Linked DNA regions of Homo sapiens: regions 1 and 2 are each linked to region 3. The links are contacts of gene promoters, found by promoter capture Hi-C in human tissues and cell types (Jung and others, 2019). All regions are on one chromosome and are shown on one strand. The core of a region is centred on a gene start or on the middle of the fragment in contact, and the rest is flanking DNA. Distances in the headings are between cores, read along the strand shown.

Evidence for each region. Contacts are between HindIII fragments. The study calls those that stand out against the background at their distance.
Region 1: a fragment that was not itself captured here is called in contact with the fragment with the promoter of MYLK in region 3 in 1 of the 25 tissues and cell types used here (IMR-90 fibroblasts).
Region 2: a fragment that was not itself captured here is called in contact with the fragment with the promoter of MYLK in region 3 in 1 of the 25 tissues and cell types used here (lymphoblastoid cells).

Annotation. Positions count from the first base shown.
Region 1 is chr3:123,930,485-123,935,435 of GRCh38, reverse strand. It overlaps CCDC14 (coiled-coil domain containing 14), which reads left to right. Exons shown (of 13, transcript NM_001366335.1): 10 at 1,681-1,763; 11 at 3,910-4,128; 12 at 4,202-4,334. Among named protein-coding and RNA genes, the nearest start is that of CCDC14, 28 kb to the left of the region's middle. The HindIII fragment of the contact is 6,144 bases long and covers 1-4,479 here.
Region 2 is chr3:123,841,345-123,846,032 of GRCh38, reverse strand. All of the region lies in intron 2 of MYLK (myosin light chain kinase), which reads left to right. Among named protein-coding and RNA genes, the nearest start is that of MYLK, 41 kb to the left of the region's middle. The HindIII fragment of the contact is 4,788 bases long and covers 1-4,688 here.
Region 3 is chr3:123,881,444-123,886,425 of GRCh38, reverse strand. MYLK (myosin light chain kinase) reads left to right here and starts at 2,094. Exons shown (of 34, transcript NM_053025.4): 1 at 2,094-2,220. It also overlaps a transcript of CCDC14 not described here. RefSeq lists a silencer at 2,055-2,214. The HindIII fragment of the contact is 8,771 bases long and covers 1-4,982 here.

The DNA.
Region 1 (4,951 bases), core at 158-2,657, 50 kb before region 3:
ACATGTAAAACTGTTTCTGATGCTTGATAACCTAGAAGTAGAATAATTTTGTCAGAGATTATGAACATTTTACATTTTGTTGGACATTTCAAACTGCCATCCAGAATGGTTATACTGATATAATCACATGAATTGAGTTAATTCATTTCCTGTACTATCATCAGAAAATGTTATTTCTTTTTATTTTTGTCAATTCTATGGCCAAAAAGTACCTTCTTTTAAATTTGCAATTCTTCATGTTAGTGAAGATGAGCATTTTTATCATATGCTTATAGGCCATTTCTATTTCTTAGGTGAACTGCTCATTCTTATCCTTTGTCACTTTTTACTAGGTTGCCTTCCTTACTGATTTGTAGGAGTTCTTTAAATGTTATGGACCCCTTGTCTATAACATATGTGCAGGTATTTTCTTTCAGGCTTTTAATTCTACAGGTTTCAAATTTTGCTATGGTTAAATCTTTCGTTCTTTTCCTTGATGCTTGCTGGATATTGAGTTTCACTTAGAAATGCCTTCCCGACTTCAAGATTATGTAGATTTCCCCCTAAAACTTGTATAGTTGGGTTTTGTTTACATATTTTATCACTTTAATCAACTCGAAATTAATATATGTGAGTGATGTGAGGTAGGGTACTATCATTTTAGAGTTAGTACCAAAAATAAATATTTTAAGGCAAAATATTTTTAGGTAAGTAATTCTGGAAAGATAATAGAGGTAACTTTTGTCCCCATAAGCGATAACTTCTTAGAAGTAAAGAAAACACTTGCATATGTTTCTATTTGTGAAGCAGATACATATTGTGAAGTTCATTGTAACAGGGCAGATTTGTAGCCTGTTAATATTCTCGTTACTTAAGACCATTAACTTTTCCATCTAATAAAATTATTAGAAGCATAGATTTGTGTTTCAGCATATGACAAACATCAGGCAGATAGATGTCTGATAGCAGTCAGTGCTTGTAGGTATTCTAGTTGATAGTAATGACAAATCTTTTAAAAAGTAGATGATTAACTACAGTGATGAAGATACACAGAAAGACGATGAGAAACAGCATGAGCAGATAGAAAAGGAAAGAAATAGAAAAAAAACAACAAATCACTGAAGAGACAAAAAAGAGAAATTAACACTTTCCTCATGAGGGTTTTTTTTTTTTTTTTTTTTTTTTTGAGGCAGAGTCTCACTCTTTCGCCAGGCTGGAATGCAGTGGTGCGATCTCACTCACTGCAACCTCCACCTCCCAGGTTCAAGCAATTCTCCTGCCTCAGCCTCCCAAGTAGCTGGGATTACAGGCACGCGCCACTACGCCCAGCTAATTTTTGTATTTTTAGTAGAGATGGGGTTTCGCCATGTTGGCCAGGCTAGTCTCAAACTCCTGACCTCAGGTGATCCGCCCACCTCGACCTCCCAAAGTGCTGGGATTACAGGCGTGAGCCACCGCGCCTGGCCCATGAGGGGAGGTTTTATGTTGTTTCAGGCAACCTTAAAAATTATCTCAGGCCTCATAATAATAGTAGTATGGTTTTGTTTTTGTTTTGTTTATTTAGTTTTTGTCTTTTGGGGATGAGATGGACTTCTGCTGTCTTAGTGGGTTTATGTTTTATCTTTTTTGATAGGCTATCACATGTATACTATTAAATTGGCTTGGTATGCTTGCATTCATAGTTCTTCATTATTTCTTTAGGCAGTTGAGAATTTTGAACCAGCAACTCAGAGAACAACAGAAAACTCAAAAACCATCTGGTGCTGTGGATTGCAACCTTGAATGTAGGTAAAAGAACTTTAAGGATTGATAAATTATTTGTGGCTCCGGAAATGTTGATAAAGAATTGAGCTTTTGTAATTACTTTGAGGGGATAAATTTAAAATATTGTAGAAACATAAGAAAATAAAAGATGCTGTCACTTCCCAATAATATACACCTTTTTTTGTTTGTTTGTTTTGAAATACAGGAGTGTGTTTCCTTTTACATATCTTCTCTTCATATATAATTGATTTATTTAACACTTACTGAATACCTACTGTGTGCCAGGCACAAATAGAACTATATATGTACTTTTTTAAAAATGAGATCACACTGTACATACTTTTCCACAGCTTCTGTTTATTCACTTAACATATAATGGACACTTTTGTCTATCAAAATACATAATTATGCATCTTTCTCTTTAAGAATTACTTGGGTATTCTGCTTATCCAGGTCTACCATAATATGGTCCTTTGCTAATAGTACTTTCCCCTTTTTTCCCAGTGCAAACAACATTGCAGTGAAAATCTTTGTATATGTCTTTGTGCATATATGTCAGCTTTGTTTGTTTGTTTGTTTGTTTGTTTGTTTGTTTTGAGACGGCGTCACTCTGTGGCCCAGGCTGGAGTGCAGTGGTGCGATCGTGTCTCACTGCAACCTCTGCCTCCAAGGTTCAAGTGATTCTCTTCCCTCAGCCTCTCAAGTGTCTGGGATTATAGGCGCCTGCCACCACGCCTGTCTAATTTTTGTATTTTTATTAGAGACAGGGTTTCATCATGTTGGCCAGGCTGGTCTTGAACTCCTGACCTCAAGTGATCCACTCACCTCGGCCTCCCAAGGTGTGGGATTACAGACAATGAGCCACCACGCCTGGCCAGCATTTTTGTAGGATAGATTTATAGCAGTAGAATTGTTGAGCCAAAGGGTATATACAGTTGCAATTGTGACAGATATTGCCAAATTGTCCTTAATGATCACAGAGCTTAATAAAGAAACTATAATAGTACCAGAAGAAAATATAAGAATTTTTATTTTTTTATTTTTTTGGAGGGGAACTTTTCCTAAGCCTGACAAAGACTCAAATGCCACAGAGGAACAGATTGATAAAATATGTCCCCAGAAAACTTTTTCAGTTTCTACATAGCAAAATTATAAATACATTCAAAACATAAGCAAAATGGAGAAACAATACATGACATGATGAAGGCTTAATCTTCTTAATATATAAATATGTCTTATAAATCAATAAGAAAAAAATATGATTGCCCAACAGAATGAGCACTTTATAAAAGTGTTCAGTTTCACCAGAGTGATTCAGAAATTATCACTGTGTCTCCACTGTTAACCAAAGGTGAGGAAAGGGAGAGGGTAGGAGAGAGGAGGCCTAGAGGACAAGTGGGGAGATCAGTAGTTGCCACTTTAAATAGCTTCTCTTATTTATATTATCTGATCATTTATCTTATTGTTTCTTTGAGATCATTACTGTGTATAATTACTTGTTTGTTATCAGCTCTGTGAGAACAGGGGCCACGTCTGTGTTGTTCATCTCTGTATATTCAGATTCTAATACAATACCTCACACATAGGAAGCATTCGCTGAGCATGTATTTGCTCAACAAATGGTGCCATATACTTTTATCGCCATGAAAAAGAACGTGATAGATCTATGTGTTTGTATACAACAGTCTTATGGGAAAAAAAGGCAAAGTTAGAAATTGTGTATAGTATGTGTGTGTATGTAGTGTAATTAATACCATATGTAAAAGTGTTTTCACGAAAGATACCAAAATTAATACTGATTGTCTCTGGGGACAGAGAGGAGGAGTGGAAGGGAGATTCTTCATTGAGAATCATTGACATTCTGTGGTGTTTGAATTTTTTAACTTTGTACATGTATTATTCTTTTAAAAGGATTATGTATTCTTTCTTTTAAAAGGGTTTAAAAAATTAATGCTTAAAATGTCAACTGGAAAAGAAAGGTATGACTTCTGCCAATCATTTTTAAAAATATATGTAGTATTTATGTAGAACTGCTCATGCAATTAATCGTTAAACAAAATCAATAAATTTCAGGCCTTTTTTTTTTTTTTTTAAGAAACAGGTATTTTCCAAGTTTGTACTTTTTAGGTTTGGGAAACAACTATTTGATCCATTTTGTCTTAACAGTGTTTTCTCTTCAGTCATTGAATATGTCACTGCAAAATCAATTGGAGGAGTCACTAAAGAGCCAGGAATTACTGCAGAGTAAAAATGAAGAGCTGTTAAAAGTGATTGAAAATCAGAAAGATGAAAACAAAAAATTTAGTAGTATATTTAAAGACAAAGATCAAACTATACTTGAAAATAAACAGCAATATGATATTGAGATAACAAGAATAAAAATTGGTACGTATTTAGACAGTAGTTATGGTCACATCTTTTAAAAGGAATAAGGAAACTGAAACTTTTGTTGTTTTAGAATTGGAGGAAGCCCTAGTCAATGTGAAAAGCTCCCAGTTTAAGTTAGAAACTGCTGAAAAGGAAAACCAGATATTGGGGATAACATTACGTCAGCGTGATGCTGAGGTGACTCGACTAAGAGAATTAACCAGGTAAAATTGACTTCCTTTGAATAACTCATGCCTTTTTTATTTTTAGATGTTTTTATAAACTTCAAAATAATGTTAGACCTGTTTTCTCCCCCATATCTTTTTCTCTTATTTTGCCAATGTTTTTGCTAATTTCTAATGATGTTTTCTTCTGTTCCAATTAAATTAGTTTAGGAATTTCAAACCTGGCGAAATGTTTTTTTAAAACCATGTGATTCTGGGCAGGGGGTCCTGATGAGAAGCTGAAGACTTGTATAGCAACACCATTGAGCCCTCTGGTTCTGAAGCTAGAGAGATCTGACTGGAATCCCAGCTCTGCCACATATTAGCTGAGTAACTTTGAGCAAGCCATTTAACTTCTCTAAACCTCAGCTGTAAAGTAGGGACATGAATAGAGTTGTCATGGGAAACTAAGAAATCATTCATGAAAAGCACTTAGCATGGTAAGCCCTCATGCCATATGATCTTGGGTAAGTCAGCCTCTTTCAGCATTATTTCATCAGTTAAATGAGTGAGTTGGCAGTACCCCTTGAGATCACTTCATTCCCTAACAGTATTTTTCTAAAATAAAATTACCTCACTCAATTTTTCTATGATATTCACTTACAAAATTCAGTTTT
Region 2 (4,688 bases), core at 1,091-3,590, 41 kb after region 3:
TAAAAAACTGGTGAAATCCAAATAAAGTCTGGTTTCTTAGTTTTGAAAAATGTACCATGGTGATGTAATAGATTAACATTAGGGGAAACAGAGTGAAGAGTACCAGGGACTCTGTATCATGTCTGAAATTTTTCTAAGAATATAATGTTATTCCCAAATAAAACATTTATTTTAAACAGTGGGGAGGTGGTGGAATTTTTTAATGGCTTGAATTAGCTGGGCATAGAAGTGTGTAGCTGTAGTCCTAGCTATTTGGGAGGCTGAGATGGGTGGATTGCTTGAGTCCAGGAATCTGAGCCTGCAGTTAGCTATGATTGCCATTGTACTCCAGCCTGCGCTACAGAGCAAGACCCTGTCTCTAAAAAATAAAAAAATATAGCTGGGCATGGTGGTGTGTACTTGTAGTCCTGGCTACTTGGGAGGCTACGGCAGATGGATTGCTTGAGCCCAGGAGTTTGAGGCTGCAGTGAGCTGTGACTGCACCACTGCACTCCAACCTGAGCAACAGAGTGAGACCTTGTCTCAAAAAAACAAAACAAAACAAAACGAAAACCCAAAAGGTGCTCATGTCTATTTCCCCAGCATTGTCAACTTTGAACTCTGTCCCTGAGGTGGATGGACTCCTGACATGTCCTTGCGGTAAATATTTCCTGGGTATAAATGATGCTTCTAGTCTTTGTGTCCTGCATGTCTCATCTGCCCTGTTTTAGGACACTCCTAGAGGGTACCAGTCTCTCTGCAAAGTCTTCTTTATTCCAATTTCATGGGTCATTTGGTACTCACCTAAGACCCAGAGATCTTAGAGTTGGAATGGACCCTAACAGAGTGCCCTGTGCAGCCCCTTTCCACAGGGAGGTCAGTCCTCTGGAGGATAGGCTGAGGAACTCAGTGAGCAAAAAGGACTAGAACCCAGAAGTTTGCTTCCTAGAATTATCTTTGCTGTCACCTCATTGTCTCTTACAATAAAGGCAAAAGAGACTGAATACCCTCTCTTATTTGTTTGTTTGCTTTGAAAACTAGTGGAGAGGTCAGGCACTGTGGCTCATGCCTGCAGTGCCAGCTACTGAGGTGGCTGAGGCAGGAGGATTGCTTGAGGCCAGGAGTTCAAGGCTACAGTGCACTATGATTGTACCTGTGAATAGCCACTGCATGCTAGCTTGGGCAACATAGCAAGATCCTGTCTTTAAAAAAAAAAAAAAAAAAAAAAAAACAACTGAGGAGAAGAGTTATATATTACCCAGAAATGGTGACACACACTGGAGCTGGAGTTATCAAGGTGAGGTTGGTGCATCTTTTTTTCTCTGTGCTTACAGACCTTCCTAAGATTAGACACTGTCTGCTTCTGAGGGAAGAGTGGGCTGGGTGCAGACAGAACTAAGAGTTGTAGAATGTATGCCTGCCCCTCCGTCTTTATCACAACCCGATGGAGTGGTCAATTGCTCCTGTCTTAAGATGAGTTAACAGGCTTAGAAAGGTTAAGTGACTTCCCTAAGGTAATAAAACTAATAAGAGGTAGGCCTATATTTTAGGATTCTAAGAACTCATGACTAAGGAAGACCCCTCTGAAGGCAGGGAGGATGTATTCCCCAGAGCCAACTTTTACTCTTGAAAGAGCTGTGGCTGGGAATGATGTGGAACCTGAGCCAAGACAGAGCAGCTAGCCTAGGACAGGTTGAGGACAGATCCAGGTGGTGAGGATCAGGCCTGCCAGGGCTACATGCCACCATGGATTCCTCCCTCTGGAAAAGAAAGTTATACAAGTTGGCTTCCTGCTCCTCCTACCCCTCATTCCTCTGTTCCATCCTAGCTTGGGGGCCCATGTCCACTAGCCTTCCTGGGAGGCCTCCCCCAAACCAAGGTCCTTGCTTTGTCTCTGTTTAATAGGTATGGGAGAGGCTTATGTGACTAAAGAGGACACCTCAGAGCTTGGTCGAGATAGGTGTGTGAGAGTAAACTCAATCATTATGTGAATGTGGTTGTTGGCTGAACACAGAGCATAAACCTAGAAGATTTGTGGGAGCAAGGAGGGAAAATGCCTTTTAAGAGAGGTCTCCAAGGAGAATATGAGATTAGTTGAGGTTCAGTGAGTTCCTTTGTTGCTGACTCAAGAAGCATATTTGAAGGGATAAGCCCTCTCACTTAGAGCAGAAGCATCCCAGCCTTGTTGCCATAGTGACAGTGCTCAAACAGAGGCTTAAAAAACAGAAAACACCATGTCAGAAGGATTCCTTTGGAGCTATGATGCCCCAGTAGAGGTCCCAGCTATTGTGTGCTATGGAGGAGAGGGGCAGGGAATTTGAATAGTTCCCCTTCCTTCCTGTTTCTTGCTGTGGGGCTTTTGTTTTGGTCTTTCTCTCTGGACTGATACGGCCTTTGGAAAGGGATGTGTCTCTGCAGAAGGAACCAGTCTTCTTTTAAACCTGTGTCAGAAGTTGGAGGCATCTCTCTTTTTCAGGCCCTTTTCTTGGTTATGCTGCCTGTTAACTTGCCATTCTGGAATGTAGCAGAGTTTTCTGTAAAGCCAGCCACCTTACCTTTATTCCTATTAGAACATGAATCTGTTTGAAGCAAGCTACATATATAGTCTCCTTGTCCTGCTCCCTAGCTTGGATGCTCTTAGACCTGGATGTTCATTCTTATCTCATAGAGGAAGGATGAAAGGGCCCTTACAACCAGACAGACCTGTGAGATGTGGTCACTAGTCACTTGGCTTATCTGGCCTCTTTAAACTGTGCCCCAATTTGCAAGGACATATTAAAATATATGATTATTTCTCCTAATCTGTCTGATTTCATTGTTTCCAGTATTTTTGACATCTGGTCTTCGGCATCTTTGCTTTGACAACATGGTTTAGACTTCAGTTTGCTTTGACCCATGGACTGCTGAGACTTGAGCTATTGAATTACTGATACGGGAGTTGTGAGGGGTGTGTTGAGTCTGTTACTCCTTCTGGTTCTAGGTCCCTGCCTGATAAGCTGTATTCCACACTATCCGAAGATCATACCTTAAGCCTCAGCAAGCCCTCTGTCTTAAATATCAGAGTGTGTGGGTTCTGTACCTTGTCAGATCCGACATGGTGTCCGTCCCAGCAGCACATTGGGAGCTAGCCAAATCTGGATTAGACATAGTCTTGCCTTAGGGCACTTGCAGTCTAGTGATAGAAGTGACGCTAGAAATGTAAGCACCTCAAAGGAGAGATCTTTGTCTATTTTGCTTTGTTCATTAATGTATCCCCTATGCTTAGAACACTGACTGGTATGTAAGTATTTAATACAAATGTGTTGCATAAATGGACACAATGTCTATGAACAATGTCAAAAGAGAAGTACAAATGAATAAGGCAGTTTCAGAGAGATAAGATATTGGCAGAGGAAATGAACAGACAAGTTGATCTTGTTTTTTGTTATTGACTATATGATTCTTTGGAATTTGTTGAGACTTGCATTATAGCCTTTTGCAGTTTAATTTTTGAAAATATTTTCTATGTGTTTGAAAAGAGTAATGCATATTTTGTAATTATCAGGCATAGGGTTCTATATATGTCTATTAGATTAAGCTTTTTTGCCCATGGTGACAAATTTGGGAGTTTTCACACAAATAATTGTGAGATTGGATTAAATTGAGCAGAATTGGCCTGATTCTGAGCTGTGATATTGGAGATAGTTACTAGACCCCCATTTCTAAAACTGATGATGCCAGGGGTATTCTCTACCTCTTTATCTCACTTCTGTTATTATTATATAGTGATTCTCTTTCTGATTAATTATATTAAAGTCTTTTGTCTGATATTAATTTACTTATTCCAACTCTTTTATGGTTAGTTTTTGCCTAACTTATTTTTTCATTTATTATTTTCAATGCCTTTGTGTTTTCTAGGTTCATCTTATGAATAGTATATAGGTGGAATATATAGCTACAGATATAGATAGATATTGTATATAATATTGTATAATAATATTTTATCTGTCTTTTAATGGGTGAATTTGGTCCATTTATATTTATTGTGATTTCTGATAAAGTTAGAGTTGGAGAGACATGAGTATACCTGGATGGATGAATTGCTGATGGCCATGATGGGAGATAATCTACCACAACAGTATACCAGAAGATACCTAATAAATGTTAGTTCTCTTTTTTAACCCCTGTCTCTAGTCTCTTCCTAGTGGATATTTGGATGATTTAAGTAGATTTTTTCTGATTAGCTCCTTGGGTACAAATGTTATATCTTCCTGACACTCTCAGACTCTCTAAACCCTAGCATTCTGACCTTGTAGGTGGTGTATAAAAGAACTGGATTGATTGTAGGGGGTTAAAGAGGGAGTGGGTGGAAAGGAAATTGTGGCAGGAGATGTTGATGACTCATTGAAAACATATGAGTGGAAAGAAAGGCTAGAAATATGATGGTAGCTAGAAAAGGGAGTAGGTCTCATTGTTGGTATTTTTAAGAGAGGATGTCTGAAGACGGAAAAAAAGGAACTGACAGAAAATGAGTGGTTGAAGGTATTAATGAGGCAAGGACTAAGCTATCACTTATCAGCTTCTTTAGAGTGAGAAGCAGGGAGAAAGGGATATACAGAAAAATATTTTTACAAGGTATTCCATAGAAATATACATCTCTACTAAATTATTAGTGTAAACTATGTAAAGATAGGCAATATGACTTTTAAAATATAGATTAATCTCATATT
Region 3 (4,982 bases), core at 845-3,344:
CTCCATCTGAAAGAAAAGAAAGAAAGAAAGAAGGAAAGAAGGAAAGAAGGAAAGAAAGAAAGAAAAAAAGAAAGAAAAAGAGAGAGAGAAGGAAGGAAGGAAAGAAAAAACAAAAAAACTAGAGCTTCTTGGAGAAATGGCTGATTCCAGGTTTGAGGCAGCAAATGTACAGATGTGCCTGGAACATCTTGTCATATCAGATAGCAAGGAAGCTATCAAAGACTTCTAGGGTCTTTGAAGCTCTTTGCACACTAGTGAGAGAGAGAGAGAGAGAAAAAAAAAAAGACTACTAGAATCTTATCAAAAGGAGCCAGGAGCCATATTGAAGAAGCTCCTACTGGCCAAAGATGGGACAATTTGAGCTCTAATATCGTAGATGGAAACCTATCAAATATATTTAAATTCATGAATTTATAATGATATTAAAGAAATCTAAGAATGACAGAGAATCAATTCCTTAACTTGAAAACTGGGTAATTTTTTTAAAAAAAAGCAGGTATTCATCGTGCCTTTCCTATCTCAGGGTAATCAAATAGTAGATGAGAGGAAGCATCTCCTTATCCACTTATGAACTAATAAATGAAAACAAAATTATTAGAATACCATGATTTTGCAAACTTCAATTAATTAATGAATCTAGGAATTGAGCATCGACGGCTGTTAACCTCAAAAAAGAGCAAACACCAGACATCATGATCATGTACCTCTTGAAGAAAAGAACACACAACCATCTATAATCTTACAAAAGACATCAAACTTCAGTCTGAGGAAGACCCTGGATCAGCTGCCAACTTGCTGTCAATACAGAGGACAGAGAAACATGCTGAATTGCCTCATGAATGTGCAACCCCCAGACTCTGGAAAACCTCACAGATCAAGGGCTTAAGTTATTTAACAAATAATTGTAAGGAAAAGACTGAAAAGGCAAATCAAATTAAAAAAAAAAAGAGTGGGGGGAGGGGTAAGGTGCACCCTTGGAAGATACCAAGAAAAACAAAAGCAGCAGAAGTGACTACATGAAAGTCAGGTTAGTGGTTACTTTTGGGAGGAGGGAGAAAGGGGGTTGTCATTGAGGTAGGGCACATGGAGAGGCTCCTGGGGTGGCTGGCAGAGTTCTATTTCTTGATCCAGGTGGTGATTACAAGGATGTTCCCTTTATAATAATTCACTAGTCTATATATCTATATATTTGTTTTTTGTGGTTTTCTGTATTTATGTTTTATTTTACAATTAAAAAATTTTTAAAAACACTCCTTAACCTGCAGTAAACAGTTTTTTTAAAAAAAACAAAAGAAGGTCCAAGTGAAGAGATCAGAAGCTATAAAATATTTCATATTGGGTGCAAACTAAATATAAAGCAAGCCAAAACCAGAAACACCTCCTCCCCCTCCCCTCCCCCCCCTCCCCTTTCCCCTTTTTTAATTTAAAGAACTTTGTAGGTATCTTCCAAACCAATGAGAGATTCTTAACACACACAAAGGGAGGATGTCAGAGGAACCATGGGGCTGAGTTGCACCACTGGAGGATGTCTGAAAAAAACTACATAGACAACCTTCCAGCACTAAAACTTTAGCCCCATGGTTCCGCTGACATCTTCATTTTACAGATTAGAAAACTGAGGCCCAGAGGCAGCCAGTGTCTCATGCACGCTCACGAAGCTAGCATCAGACCCCGACCTAAGGCCTAGGTCTCCCAGTGTAGGACTAAGACACGCACCAAGACAGTACCAGCCCGCTGACCGCCGCCTGCGAGGAGTTAACTGGGGCGGTGCAGGATAAGTGCGAGGGGGGCCCGGGTCTGGCGCTAGGTTTGGCTGCGGATTCTCCGCTCCGGACTCCGAGGCAGAAGGCGGGTGGGCGTGGCGGGAAGGGCAGCAGGTCCACTCCCCGAGCGCTATGCAAATGTCATGCAAATCAGTGCATGGGGGCTGGAGCGGGTGGTTTGAGTCCTGACCCCGTAGCGCCGCGCTCTCACTCGCTCTCCTCAGCGCGCGTCCGCTCTCCGCTCTCCCACTTGCTCTCTCTCTCGCCGGTTCGCTCACCCCCGCCCCGCCCCGCCCCGCCCCGCCCTGCCCAGTCCCGGACGCGCCTCGCGGGCTCCCCGCGCCGCCCGGTCGGCAGCAGGGCGCTGAGCGAGCTCGGAGCCCGCGCTGTGCGCCTGCGGCCGGGGCGCCCCGCCGAGCGCCGGTGCCCCGGCTCCCGGGCCGCCTTCGCCGCGCGGGTGAGTGAGCCCGCCCCATGCTTTTGTCCAGGCGCGGGCCCTGGAAGTCAAGGCTCCGAGGGTGGGAGTTCTGGGTGGGGGCTGGGACCCCCACCGTCTGTGCCTCCCGACTCCCCTAATGGAGAGGGGCCCCGGGGTGCGGCGAGGAGTCAGGGGCGTAAGGAGACGACCCCAGTGACGCCAGGCTGCACGAGTTTTCTTTTGGGGAGATGAAGTGCTTGGGGACACTGATGCGATTGCCTTTCTAGGAATCATCCGAAGGGGGTGCCTTTGATTTGAGGGGCGGAGGAGAAGCGGACCCTTCTCCCAGCTCCCAGACCCTCGCTAGAGGACTCGGTGACGGCCTCTGGGAAGGGGGTGCCACGTGAAGGTCCTTCCAGCCCAAATGTGATTCCGGGAAGGTAGGGCGGGGAAGGCGGCCCGCGAGTGCCAGACCTGGCCATCCCAGGCGAAGCTGGGGCGCGGGCTTTGCAGACTTGTTCCTACTCCATACTCCTCATTTAAGCTCCTTACCTCGCTCTGCCTCCTTCGCGTTAACTGGGGTCCCATTGTTGAGGGACCTTGTTCGCCGATGATTGCAGTTGGAAAGTTTTGGATAAACTTCTCAGGAGATGTGAGTTGTCAATGGTTGAGGTAGACCCCTCCCTGGAACTTATGGAACTAAAACCCTTCAAGACCCAAAGGACTGAATTTCTAGGAGTGGCATTGCAGATGTGAAGATGGGCTGATGGGGAAATGGTTTCAAGGATATATATTTTTTTTAGATTGGGGTGTGTGTGTTGGGGTGCGGGGCACTTTCTATTTCGTAGCCAGAAGGAGAAGACCCAGCTCTACTAGAGTCTAGAGGGAGTAAAATTAGCTGTTGTGATTCAGGGAGCTGGGTGGGTGTAGGGAAACACCTGGGCAGTGGGCATGATGCCAGACCTCAGGCCGTTGGTTTTTACCATCCCTCCTCTCCCCAAGTGCAAAGACCAGAGTATATGCAATGACCCGCCCACCCCACAGCCTTTGAGAGCCTGCCCTGGAGCTGCATCCCCCTTCCAAGAGAGGCTGTGTTCTTCTCCACCTGAATGGAATACTTTTTGTCAAAATGCACTTATCAATAAATTATTTCCAGATGGTGGGCTTAGGAGGACCATTTGGGGAACCCCGCCCACACTTCAAAGAATCAGGAATCAACAATGCAAGTCTCTGGGAGAAGTGTAGGTGCATCTGGTGACTTTACTAGGTTCCTACAAGGCATTTAGGGTTCTAATAGAACTGTTTTCTTTTCTCTTAAATTCTTGACCTCCTTCTCTCTTCCGTGATTCTCTTAGTCTCTTCCCCGCCTGCACACTGTGGGACTGTGGAGGATGATGCTGCTGGCACCACAGTGCTCTAGGGCAGCATGGAATTTTCCTTCCTGCCCAGAGTGAGGTTACCCCTTTTTCTCCCACTCTCAGTGGGCCAGGAGCCTTGGGTCTGGGAGGAACCTGAGCAGTTGGTCCTGGGTCCGGAGTGGTTGGACTCTGGATGCTGGATTGGGTAGCGGGTACTCTGGGGACATGCACAAGAGCTTTTTTTGCCAAGATGTGCAGGTCTGTCTCATTGTTCACTGATGATACAAAGGATGCTGGACCTCATTTGCAGCTAAGCATGAGCTTGGAGAACCACCCCACAGTGGGGAAGCATTTATGCTGGTTTATCTCCCATGTTCAGTTTCTTTTGTGTAATAACTGGCTAGCTGAGGAGGAGGGTAGCTGCAGCATTGTAGATGTTTCCTTGTCTTATTTTTATTTTTATTTTTTATTTTGAGACAGGGTCTGGCTCTGTTGCCCAGGCTGGAGTACAGTGGCGTGATCTCAGCTCACTGCAACCTTGACCTACCAGGCTCAAGGAATCCTCCACCTCAGCCTCCTGAGTAGCAGGGACTACAGGTGTGTGCCACCACACCTGGCTAGTTTTTTGGATTTTTTGTAGAGATGGGGTCCTACCATGTTGTCCATACTAGTCTAATGGGCTCAAGTGATCGCCCACCTCTGCCTCCCAAAGTGCTGGGTTACAGGCATGAGCCACTGCACCCAGCCAGAGTAGTTGCTGTTTGTGTGAGGTTTGCTCACCCCTTCATCAGGGGCTGCTTCCCCAGGGGCCAGATCTTAGAAAACATATGCAGAGCAGACTAGGCCTTGGAACATTCCTAGGCTAACTGGTAAGGCCAGGTGGCCCCACCTGCTGCCTGAAAATGGTAGACAGACAGCTACAGTCACTGCAGAGGAGGGGCTCCTGGCTGGCAGGTGGCGGGGGTAATCTGCTGAGAAGGCTTGTCAGAGAAGGAGGTGACCCAGATGGTGCAGAGGGGAGAGGCCTTTGAGTTCCAAGGGTGGGGAAAGGTTCTGGGTCTCTGGCTAGGGAGATCTTTGCTGGTCTCAGAGGCATAGATTGTGAATGCGCTGGGGTCACCATATACTCAGTGTCTTTGAGAATGACCCCTTGCTTTTATCCTCAAAATATAAGATGAGCCTAGAGTTTGAAACACAACTAGTTGGCTTGTCTGTCTTTTAGGAAGTTCATAAGGTGGGGTGGGGGTTTCAGAATGCAGCCTTGCTTGGGGACATGGGTACAGTGTCCCATGAGTATGGGGTGTCTTATTTAGTATCTTTCTGAGAACAATACTTGGGAGTCTGGAAATATAAGCCTACTTGGAAGCCCAGCTGCACCTCTCACAGCTCAAACCAACCCACACAGGCTGGGAGATTGTTCATTCTTAAAAGCTTCCTGTCCTG